2 separate regions of the Homo sapiens genome follow, and region 1 is linked to region 2. The links are contacts of gene promoters, found by promoter capture Hi-C in human tissues and cell types (Jung and others, 2019). All regions are on one chromosome and are shown on one strand. Each heading gives the region's core, a stretch centred on a gene start or on the middle of the fragment in contact. The rest is flanking DNA. Distances are from core to core; before and after follow the strand shown.

Region 1 (5,502 bases), core at 1,202-3,701, 65 kb before region 2:
ACTGCAGGGTGCAAGGCAGCCGGCCCATGCCTAGGCCCCAGCTTCGCCAGCAAAGGCCAGGCAGAAGGAGGCATCACCATGAGAATCACCATCATGGTGCTGCTGGGATGGGACAAACCTCGTTTTGGTGGAGTGTCAGTGTTTTCAAGTTAGGGGCTCTGTTTACATAACACGTCTATACTGCCATGGATTTTCTCAACGGGCGTAAGTTGCTCCTGACTTGTCTCAGCGGGCGTTTAAGATGCTCCTGAATCGTATCCTTGTCATGTGGGAGCCTCCATTGGAGAGAAAGCCGACTGACCGGCAAGCACAGACCTGCCCTGTGCTTTCTTCTCTTCAGCAACCGCAGCCGGGGTGTCTGTCTTCCCAGGTGCAGCCGAGTCTCAATTCTGTTTCAGAAACTATCTCAGGGCTATGGGGCTTGGAGCTGATTGTGTTTTCTGAGGTTTGTGGTTTTCAAGATGTTTTAAATTAAACAGGCAGTTTTATTTATTTTTGAACCTTAGTGCATCCGATTGGATCCATCAGAATCTCCTAGTTCATAAAGAATTGTTGATGCTGGTCTCTGTTAGCTTTTTTTTTAAAAAATTTAGAGCTAGAGTCTTGCTCTGTTGCCCACGCTGGAGTGCCGTTGTGTGATCATGGCTCACTCCAGGTTCCAGATTCCAGGACTGCTGGGCTCACGCAGTCCTCCTCAGCCGCCTGAGTAGCTGGGACTCAAGAGGTGTGTGCCACCACACCCTGCTAATTTTTTGTAGAGATGGGGTCTCACTGTATTGCCTAGGCTGGTTTCAAGCTCCTGGGCTCAGATGATCCTCCTGCCTCAGCCTCCCAAAGCGCTGGGATTATAGGCATGAGCCACCACACCCAATCTGTTAGCCTCTTTTTTTTTTGTTTTCTTGAAATGGAATCTCGCCTTATCACCCAGGCTGGAGTGCAGTGGCATAATCTTGGCTCGCTGCAACCTCTGCCTCCCGGATTCAAGCAATTCTCCTGCCTCGGCCTCCCGAGTAGCTGGGATTACAGGCACGCGCCACTGCACCTGGCCGATTTTTTTATTTTCAGTAGAGACGGGATTTCACCATGTTGGTCAGGCTGGTCTTGAATTGCTGACCTCGTGATCCACCCACCTCGGCCTCCCAAAGTGCTGGGATTACAGGGGTGCACCGCCACCGTGCCCGGTCAGCCTCTCACTAGCTGAGGAGCCAGAACTTTTCCTGTTCTTACCCTTCTCCCACTGCCTGTCTCCCCTCCAATCTGTATGTGAATGTATGTTGTGAGGTTTTATCCATTTAATATTATACTCCTAAGATTCATCCATATTGTGTGTTCAGTGGTGGTTCATTCATTCATTCATTCTCACTGCTATAAAAAGGTTCCAGACTTGGCGTGGTGGCTCACGCCTGTAACTCCAGCTCTTTGGGAGGCTGAGGCAGGAGGATCGCTTGAGGTCAGGAGCTCAAGACCAGCCTGGGCAATGTGTTGAGACCCCCATCTCTACAAAAAAATTTAAAAAATTAGCCAGGCATGGTAGCTCACGCCTGTAGTTCCAGCTACTTGGGAGGCTGAGGCAGGAGGATGCTTGAACCCAGGAGGCCAAGGCTGCAGTGAGCCAAGATCACACTGCTGCACTGCAGCCTGGATGACAGAGCGAGACTCTGTCTCAAAAAGAGAGAGAGAAGGTTTCATCGTATGAATTATTTTTATCGTATGTCATTTTGTTTTTCTATTTTGAGATGGAGTCTTGCTCTGTTGCCCAGGCTGGAGGGTAGTGGTGCGATCTTGACTCACAGCAACCTCTGCCTCCCGGGTTCAAACGATTATACCACTTCAGCCTCCCAAGTAGCTGGGATTACAGGCTCCTGCCACTGTGCCTGGCTAATTTTTGTGTTTTTAGTAGAGACAGGGTTTCGCCATGTTGGCCAGGCTGGTCTTGAACTCCTGACCTCAAGTGATCCGCCTGCATCAACCTCCCAAAGTGCTGGGATCACAGGCGCGAGCACCTCGCCTGGCCTATCATTTTCATTAGGAAAAGTTTGTAGGTTGATGGGTCCTTGGTGCCTTTTTTTCCTGCCTGCTGCTGGAGAGGAGCTGAGGCTTGAGGAGAAAGGAGGAAGAAGGAACTTTAATGCATTGGCTGAATATATATATTTAACGTTTTGTCCTGCAGATGGTCCTCTGTAAATGGAGTAAATTACAATATTTGAGGAGTCTTCCTTACCTCATCTCTGAAGGCAGAGATACCCCATAGCCTCGGGGCCCCGGCTTTCTGTAGAGCTGCTGACAAAGTCCCCCTGAGCCAGAGCTGAGTCACTGCTGTGTCCAACAGTCTCGGGTTCTTGCATCTTTCCCGTCCAGCGTCTCGCACTGACCCTGGGGGTCCCCAACGCAAGCCCGTTCACATCTCACTATTCATATCTCAGCATGAGCGTTCACACTGTAAGTAACGCCCTGGCTCTTCTCCAACCTGTTTTTCCAGATAAACATTGACGATCTTGAGGATGACCCTGTGGTGAACGGGGAGAGGTCTGGCTGTGCGCTCACAGACGCTGTGGCACCAGGGAACAAAGGAAGGGGTCAGCGTGGAAACACAGAGAGCAAGACGGATGGAGATGACACCGAGACAGTGCCCTCAGAGCAGGTGGGGGGCTGAGTGGTGAGGAGGTGGCATCAGACGGGAGAGTTCCAAGGCACCCAGCCACGTGTATCCTGTGCTGTGATTTTCCTTGGAGGTGTAATTTTCCGAGTTCCATTTTGGTTACCTGCTAGTTGCCCCCAAATTTACTTGGGAACCTTGATGAGATTTGCATGAAATGAGTGAAGGTCGCAGGCCTTTCTCCTGCATCTCAGGAGAGTCTGCGCCTGCCCAGCAGTGTATGTAACCGCACACGTGTGTCCCTCCTAGCCAACCGCGCACGTGTGTCCCTCCTAGCCGACCGCGCACGTGTGTGCCTCCTAGCCGACCGCGCACGTGTGTCCTTCCTAACTGTGCCCCGAACGTTTGCTTGGCTGGGTTGTGGATCTGGGTGCTGGTGTAAGTGAACTTTGAAGAAACATGCAGGTCAGGTTAACGTGGGATGGGCAGAGATGCAGACAGCCTGCTGCTGTGCTCCACAGCACAGAAGAGGGGCCCTAAAAGGAGAGCTTGTGTTCATTTATCCAACAAGTGTTCTTGGGAGCTTGCTGGGTGCTGGGAACGTGCCTTTGCCCCCCAGGAGCCTCTGGTTGGGAGGGCAACATACATGTGAAGTGACAGGTGGGTCCTGACTTGAGGCTCAGGGTCCTGGGGGCTTCCTGAGGAGCCTTCCTACTGTCAGAAGGGGTTGGCCAGGTGCAGGCGTAGGGGACCACACATACAGGTGCGGTGTGAGGCGGCCAGGGCACAGCAAGGCCCCCGTCTTCAGGGTGGCTGCAGTGTGGCAGGGAGTGGCCGACACAGGGAGGAATGAGAGCTGGACCTGGTCAGGGTCCTGTGAGCCTGTGAGGCTGGACACAGAAGGCCCTGGGGACTGCTGTAGCACAGCCCGAGGGGCTCGGAGAGGTGGGAAGGTGCCTGCTGGAGAGAAGAGAGTGAGTTGAAGGAACTTTTGGGACACGGAGGGAGAGGTAGGGGCTGCTTAGGTGAGGGTGGAGTCACGCTTGCTGCTTTAATTCTCACTTCTTAAGATTTACTTCTCATTCTACTGATGAAAATGTGTTTCTATCATTAGTCTCATGCAAGTGGCAAACTCCGGAAGAAGAAAAAAAAACAGAAAAACAAGAAAAGCAGCACGGGAGAAGCATCGGTACGTGAGTTGGGCCTGGCTGTGCTCTGTCCCTCTGCCTGACGCCCCTCTCCCTCTGCCTGACGCCCTCTCCCTCTGCCTGACGCCCTCTCCCTCTGTCTGACGCCCTCTCCCTCTGCCTGACGCCCTCTCCCTCTGCCTGACGCCCTCTCCCTCTGCCTGACGCCCTCTCCCTCTGTCTGACGCCCTCCGTCTGCCTGACGCCCTCTCCCTCTGCCTGACGCCCCTCTCCCTCTGCCTGACGCCCCTCTCCCTCTGCCTGACGCCCTCTCCCTCTGCCTGACGCCCTCTCCCTCTGCCTGACGCCCCTCTCCCTCTGTCTGACGCCCTCTCCGTCTGCCTGACGCCCTCTCCCTCTGCCTGACGCCCTCTCCCTCTGCCTGACGCCCCTCTCCCTCTGCCTGACGCCCTCTCCCTCTGCCTGACGCCCTCTCCCTCTGCCTGACGCCCTCTCCCTCTGCCTGACGCTCTCTCCATTCTCTTCTGGCTGTTTTCCAAGGTGGTGTTGAAAGAAGCTTACTTAGTATTTTTATTCCTTCCTATTAGGAGTATAACTAAGAGATCAGGGAAAAAGAAAAGGGAAAGTTACTTTCTAAATGCTGCTTCTTGTTTTTACCCTTGTTCCTCGACTGGTTGGCGCTCTGCTCTGTGTCTCTGTGGGAATGTGTGATCTGATGGGGACATCCCTTCTAGTTCTGGTGCTCCTGTGACCCGTGGGACACTTGCTGTTTGCCCTGACATCTGTCCCATGCTTATGGGTTAATTGCATGGTGGGTACAGAACCCTCCACTGGAGCTAGTCTGTCATCAGAAAAAAATATGTTTTCATCATTGCCCTTCGTCCTCGTCTGACTGTGTCCTGAGACAAGGGTGTAGCTTTGTTGCCGTTTAGTTGGAGCCACAAGTCCCAACCCTGTTTGCCTGAGGAGGTGAGCACACCAGTGTGATGTGGAATGCCCAGTTTTTTCTAGGGTCCTTCTGGTTCTGTGATTCTGTCTATGCTGAGCGCTTCTTAGGAAACATCTCTTCTTTTTTCTAAATGTGTGGATGGTACATAGTGTTTGACTTATGCTGTCCTTTAGGAAGTAAATACAGTGTAATAGGTCTCTTTTAAGATAAATAATTTTGTTATTGTTACAATATTTAAAATAATGTCAGTGTGGTGATTAAGAGGTTGTTTTGGGGCTTTTAGGAAAACGGACTAGAAGATATCGATCGCATCCTAGAGAGGATTGAGGACAGCACTGGGTTGAACCGTCCCGGCCCAGCTCCCCTGAGCTCCAGGAAGCACGTTCTCTACGTGGAGCACAGGTGTGGCCCCCGCCCTTCTCTGCGGCTGCCCTTCTCTGCGGCTGCCCTTCTCTGCGGCTGCCCTTCTCTGCGGCTGCCCTTCTCTGTGGCTGCCACAGAGACTTCGTGGGAGGAAAAGGTTCTCTAAAAAAGGAAAAATAAAATGTACTGTCTTTATTTAAAAATCATATGAGTTTATTGGCTGGGCGTGGTGGCTCACGCCTGTAATCCCAGCACTTTGGGAGGCCAAGGCAGGCGGATCATGAGGTCAGGAGATCGAGACCATCCTGGCTAACATGGTGAAACCCCCTCTCTACTAAAAATACAAAAAATTAGCTGGGCGTGGTAGCGGGCGCCTTATAGTCCCAGCTACTCGGGAGGCTGAGGCAGGAGAATGGCGTGAACCCAATAGGTGGAGCTTGCAGTGA
Region 2 (5,199 bases), core at 203-2,702:
GCTGGAAGGTCGTGGGTTTACCAGAATGAGGGCAAGGAACACCTGGCCCACCCAGGGCGGAAAACTGCTTAAAGGCATTCTTAAGCCACAAACAATAGCGTGAGCGATCTGTGCCTTAAGGACATGCTCCTGCTGCAGGTAACTAGCCAGACCCATCCCTTTATCTTGGCCCATCCCTTCGTTTCCCATAAGGGATACTTTTAGTTAGTCTAATATCTACAGAAACAATGCTTATCACTGGTTTGCCGTTAATAAATACGTGGGTAAGTCTCTGTTCGAGGCTGTCAGCTCTGAAGGCTGTGAGACCCCTGATTTCCCACTCCACACCTCTCTATCTCTGTGTGTGTGTGTCTTTAGTTCCTCTAGCGCTGCCGGGTTAGGGTCTCCCCGACCGAGCTGGTCTCTGCAAGGTGGTGTGTGGCTCCCACTTGGGAGGCCTCCAGTTACTGGCACTGTCATCACCATGCCCACTGAACAAAGTGGACCAAGCCCCAGAGGCAGCCAAAACCACACCTTTCTGCAGGGAGGGTAAACTGAGCCCGCGAGCTCAGGGCAAGCGCACCAGGCGCATATGCTGGCCTTCATCTGTCCTCAGCTCCTCCCTGCGGGCACAAGCGGGGGCAGCTGAATCTTCCACGCGAGAAGCCTAAGAGTAGGGATACGGGGGCGGGGAGCAGCAGGCCTGCTCTGTGTGTAAACAACGGGAAAGCAGGAATAACGCCAGGGCCCGCGGACACCAGCTGCCTCCGAAGTCCCGCTGCCCGGCGCCTGCATGGAGCAGCCTCCTGAGCGCAGTGTGGCGCGTCCTCCTGTGTAAAGAGGGTAGAGCCGCGCCGGGTCCCTCCCTCTGCAGCCGTGAAGCCCCCGCGGGGCCCTGCAGGTGGCTGGCGGCACCTGCACACGGTGGTTCTCTGTTCCTTTTTCCTCCTCAACCACTGAGGTTAAAAAAAGTGTTAAAAGCCACCCTTTTTGTTTTTTTGAGACGGAGTCTCGCTCTGTCGCCCAGGCTGGAGTGCAGTGGTGCGATCTCGGCTCACTCCGAGCTCCGCCTCCCGGGTTCACGCCGTTCTCCCGCCTCAGCCTCCCGCGTAGCTGGGACTACAGGCGCCCGCCACCGCGCCCGGCTAATTTTTCGTATTTTTAGTGGAGACGGGGTTTCACCGTGTTAGCCAGGATGGTCTCGATCTCCTGACCTCGCGATCCGCCCGCCTCGGCCTCCCGAAGCGCTGGGATGACAGGCGTGAGCCGCCGCGCCCGCCCATTTTTTTTAAACGTGTTGGGGTTTGGGTTTCAGCCACAGGCCTTCTGCGATGAGAGGAAACCCAGGACGCGCAGCCCCAGGTCAGGCCCGCGGAACAGCCGGGCGGACTCCGGGGCTCGCAGACTCGCGACCCGCGTGCCATGAACCTCCGCGCCGGAGGCGGCAGCAGCGAGCGCGGGGCTGGATCCAGCGTAGCGGGGCGGCCGGGCGGATCCAGCGCAGCCGGGAGACAGATGCGAGGCGGCGGTCAGGTGAGCGGCGCGGGGCCGGCGGGGTCGGGGCCGGCGGGGACGGGGCCGGCGGGGACGGGGCCGGCGGGGACGGGGTCGGCGGGGTCGGGGCTGGGAGGGACGGGGCCGGCGGGGACGGGGTCGGCGGGGACGGGGCTGGGAGGGACGGGGCCGGCGGGGACGGGGCCGGCGGGGACGGGGCCGGCGGGGTCGGGGCTGGGAGGGACGGGGCCGGCGGGGACGGGGTCGGCGGGGTCGGGGCTGGGAGGGACGGGGCCGGCGGGGACGGGGCCGGCGGGGACGGGGCCGGCGAGGTCGGGGCCGGCGGGGACGGGGCTGGGAGGGCGGCCCGCCCGGCGCAGGGGCCTCGAGACCTCGGCCGCCCCACCCCGGGGACGCCGCCGCTGCTCCGGCGTCCACACCAGCTGCGTGCGGAGCACCCGGGCGGCTCAGGGGACCCGCGTGGCCGTGCCCCCGCCCTGGGCTGCTCCGAGCCTCAGTTTCCCCCTCGGTGGAACGGGTGGGTGGGAGAGACCTGCCCCCGAGGAGCCCGGGAGACCGGGCGAGCTCCCGCGGGTGTGGTGGGTGGGGAGGCACAGTGCTGGGGTGGCTTCTCCCTGCAGCAGGTGCCGAACCCACGGCCAGGCTTCCGTGGCCAGCAGCCCTAGAGGAATGGCCATCCTGTCCCTGCGAGCCCCTGGGCCCTGGCAGGCGATGCAGGTATGGGCAGACAGGACGCTGTTGACTCCGCACACCGGGGTGACTTCTCAGGTTCTCGGGGTGGCAGCTGCAGTGATGACACCGCTTCCTGGTGGTCACGCCGCGGGCAGGACGCGGGAGGCCAGGTCCGTGCATCCCGCGTGTCCTGAGCTTCGGCCCAGGGTCCCTCCGTGCCCCGGAACCCCGCCGGCTTTCTTCGGCTTCCTTTCATTGCTAAGTTGTGGGGTCCTCCCCGATGAGAGCAGTGGGCTCTAGAGGAGGGGCAGGGGGTGGCCAGACCTCTTGCTTTCACTCTTCCACTTCCTGCCCGCTCCTTTCTGAGGCCAAGTCCCACATCTGGGTGCAGAACTGGTGGGGTGAGCCTGGTGAGAGGGGCAGGCTGGCGTTCTGCTCAGAGTCGGCCACTGTGGCCGGCATCCCCAGGTCTGTGTGAGCAGAAGCTAAGGCTGCGAGGCCAGCGGCCTCCCCTCATTCATCCCCTGCCCGTGCGCCAGGCCTGGGGCTGGCACTGACTGTCAGTAAATAGGCAAATAAAAGATGCCTTTTTTCACAGCCCGGAGGAGAGCTGGTAGCCTAGAGTACAGCTGCTGGGCAGAACGGAGGTGTCCCTGCCAGCGTGCCTTCCTTGACGCTCCTCTGGCCATGTTTTAAACACCAGGAGGTTTCCAGCGGCTTCCCCAGGCGTAGCTCCTGCACCTTTTTCCTGGGCTGGTCACCATATGTGATGACAGTGCCAGTCTGTTCTGAGCAGCTCTGGGCTCCTGGCTTCACTGACATCATAAACAAGTCCTTAGCCCTTCCATCCACCCCAGAAAGTAGGTGTTCCCCCTGATTTATAGGCAAGACAATGGAGAACCAGAGTCTAAATCAGGGCTGATTTTTTTTTTTTTTTTGAGATGGAGTTTTGCTGTGTTGCCTAGGCTGGAGTGCAGTGGCACAATCTCGGCTCACTGCAACCTCCACCTCCCGTGTTCAAGTGATTCTCCTGCCTCAGCTTCCCAAGTAGCTGGATTACAGGCATGCACCACCATGCCCAGCTAATTTGTTTGTGTTTTTAGTACAGACGGGGTTTCACCATGTTGGTCAGGCTGGTTTGAACTCTTGACCTCAAATGATCCACCCGCCTCAGCCTCCCAAAGTGAGCCACCACACACCGGCCATGATTCTTAAAAATAACAGTAATAGGCCAGGCATGGTAGCTCACACCTATAATCCCAGCAATTTGGGAGGCAGAGGCAGGAGGGTTGCTTGAAGCCAGGAGTTTGAGACCAGCCTGGGCATCAGAGTGAGACTCCGTCTCTACAAAAAGTTAAAAAAAATTAGCTGAGTGTGGTGGCACACACTGGAGTTCCAGCTACTTGGGAGGCTAATATGGGAGGACCCCTTCAGCCCAGGAGTTTGAGGCTGCAGTGAGCTGTGATCGCACCACTGCACTCCAGCTCGGGTGACAGAGCAACACCCTGTCTCAAAAAAAAGTAATAATGATAAATTATAATCAATATTTATTGGGTGCTTACTATGTGCCGGCCAGTGTTCTCTGAACTTAGTATTAACTACTTTAATCTTGACAATAACCCTGTATGGTACTATTGTAATCCCCATTTGAGACATGGGAGAATGGAGGCAGAGAAACGTTTATCCACTTACCCAAGGTCACACAGCTAGGAGCTAGCAGAGTTGGGATTCAAGCTGGACGTGTCTGTCTTGTTACCATGAAACTATTGGGATCATCAGTCAGAATCTTTTCTTTTTTTTTTTTCTGAGATGGAGTCTCACTCTGTCACCCAAGCTGGAGTGCAGTGGCTCAATCTCGGCTCACCTCCTGGGTTCAAGCGATTCTCCTGCCTCAGCCTCCCAAGTAGCTGGGATTACAGATGCCCACCACCACGCCCGGCTAATTTTTGTATTTTTGGTAGAGACGGGGTTTCACCAGGTTGGCCAGGCTGGTCTCGAACTGCTCACCTCAGGTGATCAGCCCACTTCTGCTTCCCAAAGTGCTGGGATTACAGGCGTGAGCCACCGAGCTGGGTCTTTCAGTCAGAATCTACTTTGGCCGCAAGAGACAAAAACCTCCCCTATAACACTGGTGGGAATATCGTATTTCTCTCACTTGAATGAAGTCTGGCTGTGAGCAGCTTAGGGCTCAGGTGCAGTCCCCTGCAATCACGTCACTCTCCCCAGTGTGGCTATTCCAGCTGCAGCCTTTACATCTGCATTCCAGGCAGCAGGAGGCAGGGATGGCTGAAGAGGGGCAGCCCCTACCTTTAAGGACAATTCTCAGAAGTCTTTTCTTTTTTCTCATATGTATGTATACACACACACACATATATATGTATATACACACACATACATATTTATGTAAAAAAGATTTTTTTTTTTTTTGATATGGAGTCTCGCTCTGTTGCCCAGGCTGGAGTGCAGTGGTGCGTTCTCGGCTCACTGCAAGCTCCGCTTCCTGGGTTCACGCTATTCTGCTGCCTCAGCCTCCCGAGTAGCTGGGGCTACAGGCGCCTGCCACCACACCTGGCTAATTTTTTGTATTTCTAGTAGAGACAGGGTTTCAATGTGTTAGCCAGGATGGTTTCGATCTCCTGACCTGGTGATCCGCCCGCCTCGGCCTCCCAATGTGCTGGGATTACAGGCGTGAGCCACGGCGCCCAGCCCATATTTGTATAAAATTTAATAGAGATAGGGCCTCATTGCATTGGGCCTGGCCGGATGCCGTCCTCCTGCCTTGGCCTTCCAGAGTGCTGGGATTATAGGTGTGAGCTACCACGCCCGGCCCATTACTGTTGTTTTCAGATAGCCCTGATTTAGTCTCTGGTTCTCCCTTTTCTTGCCTATAAATCAGGGAGAACACGTACTTCCTGGGGTGGATGGAAGGGCTAAGCACTTGGGTATGTCAGTGAAGCCAGGAGCCCAGAGCTGCTCAGATCTGCCTGATCTTCTCAAGCCGAGGGGGTCAGAACAGTCACTTTACCAGGTCTA

What was found. The method cuts DNA at HindIII sites, captures the fragments that hold promoters and counts their contacts. A contact is called where the count stands out against the background at its distance.
Region 1: a contact is called between a fragment that was not itself captured here and the fragment with the promoter of DEF8 in region 2, in 2 of the 25 tissues and cell types used here (adrenal gland and pancreas).

The regions. Positions count from the first base shown.
Region 1 is chr16:89,880,872-89,886,373 of GRCh38, forward strand. It overlaps TCF25 (TCF25 ribosome quality control complex subunit), which reads left to right. Exons shown (of 18, transcript NM_014972.3): 2 at 2,480-2,641; 3 at 3,711-3,785; 4 at 4,977-5,095. Among named protein-coding and RNA genes, the nearest start is that of TCF25, 10 kb to the left of the region's middle. RefSeq lists an enhancer at 1,621-1,790 and a cis regulatory region at 1,706. The HindIII fragment of the contact is 6,115 bases long and covers 1-5,502 here.
Region 2 is chr16:89,947,303-89,952,501 of GRCh38, forward strand. DEF8 (differentially expressed in FDCP 8 homolog) reads left to right here and starts at 1,453. Exons shown (of 13, transcript NM_001242818.2): 1 at 1,453-1,512; 2 at 2,115-2,211. RefSeq lists an enhancer at 463-802 and a silencer at 1,483-1,582. The HindIII fragment of the contact is 40,323 bases long and covers 1-5,199 here.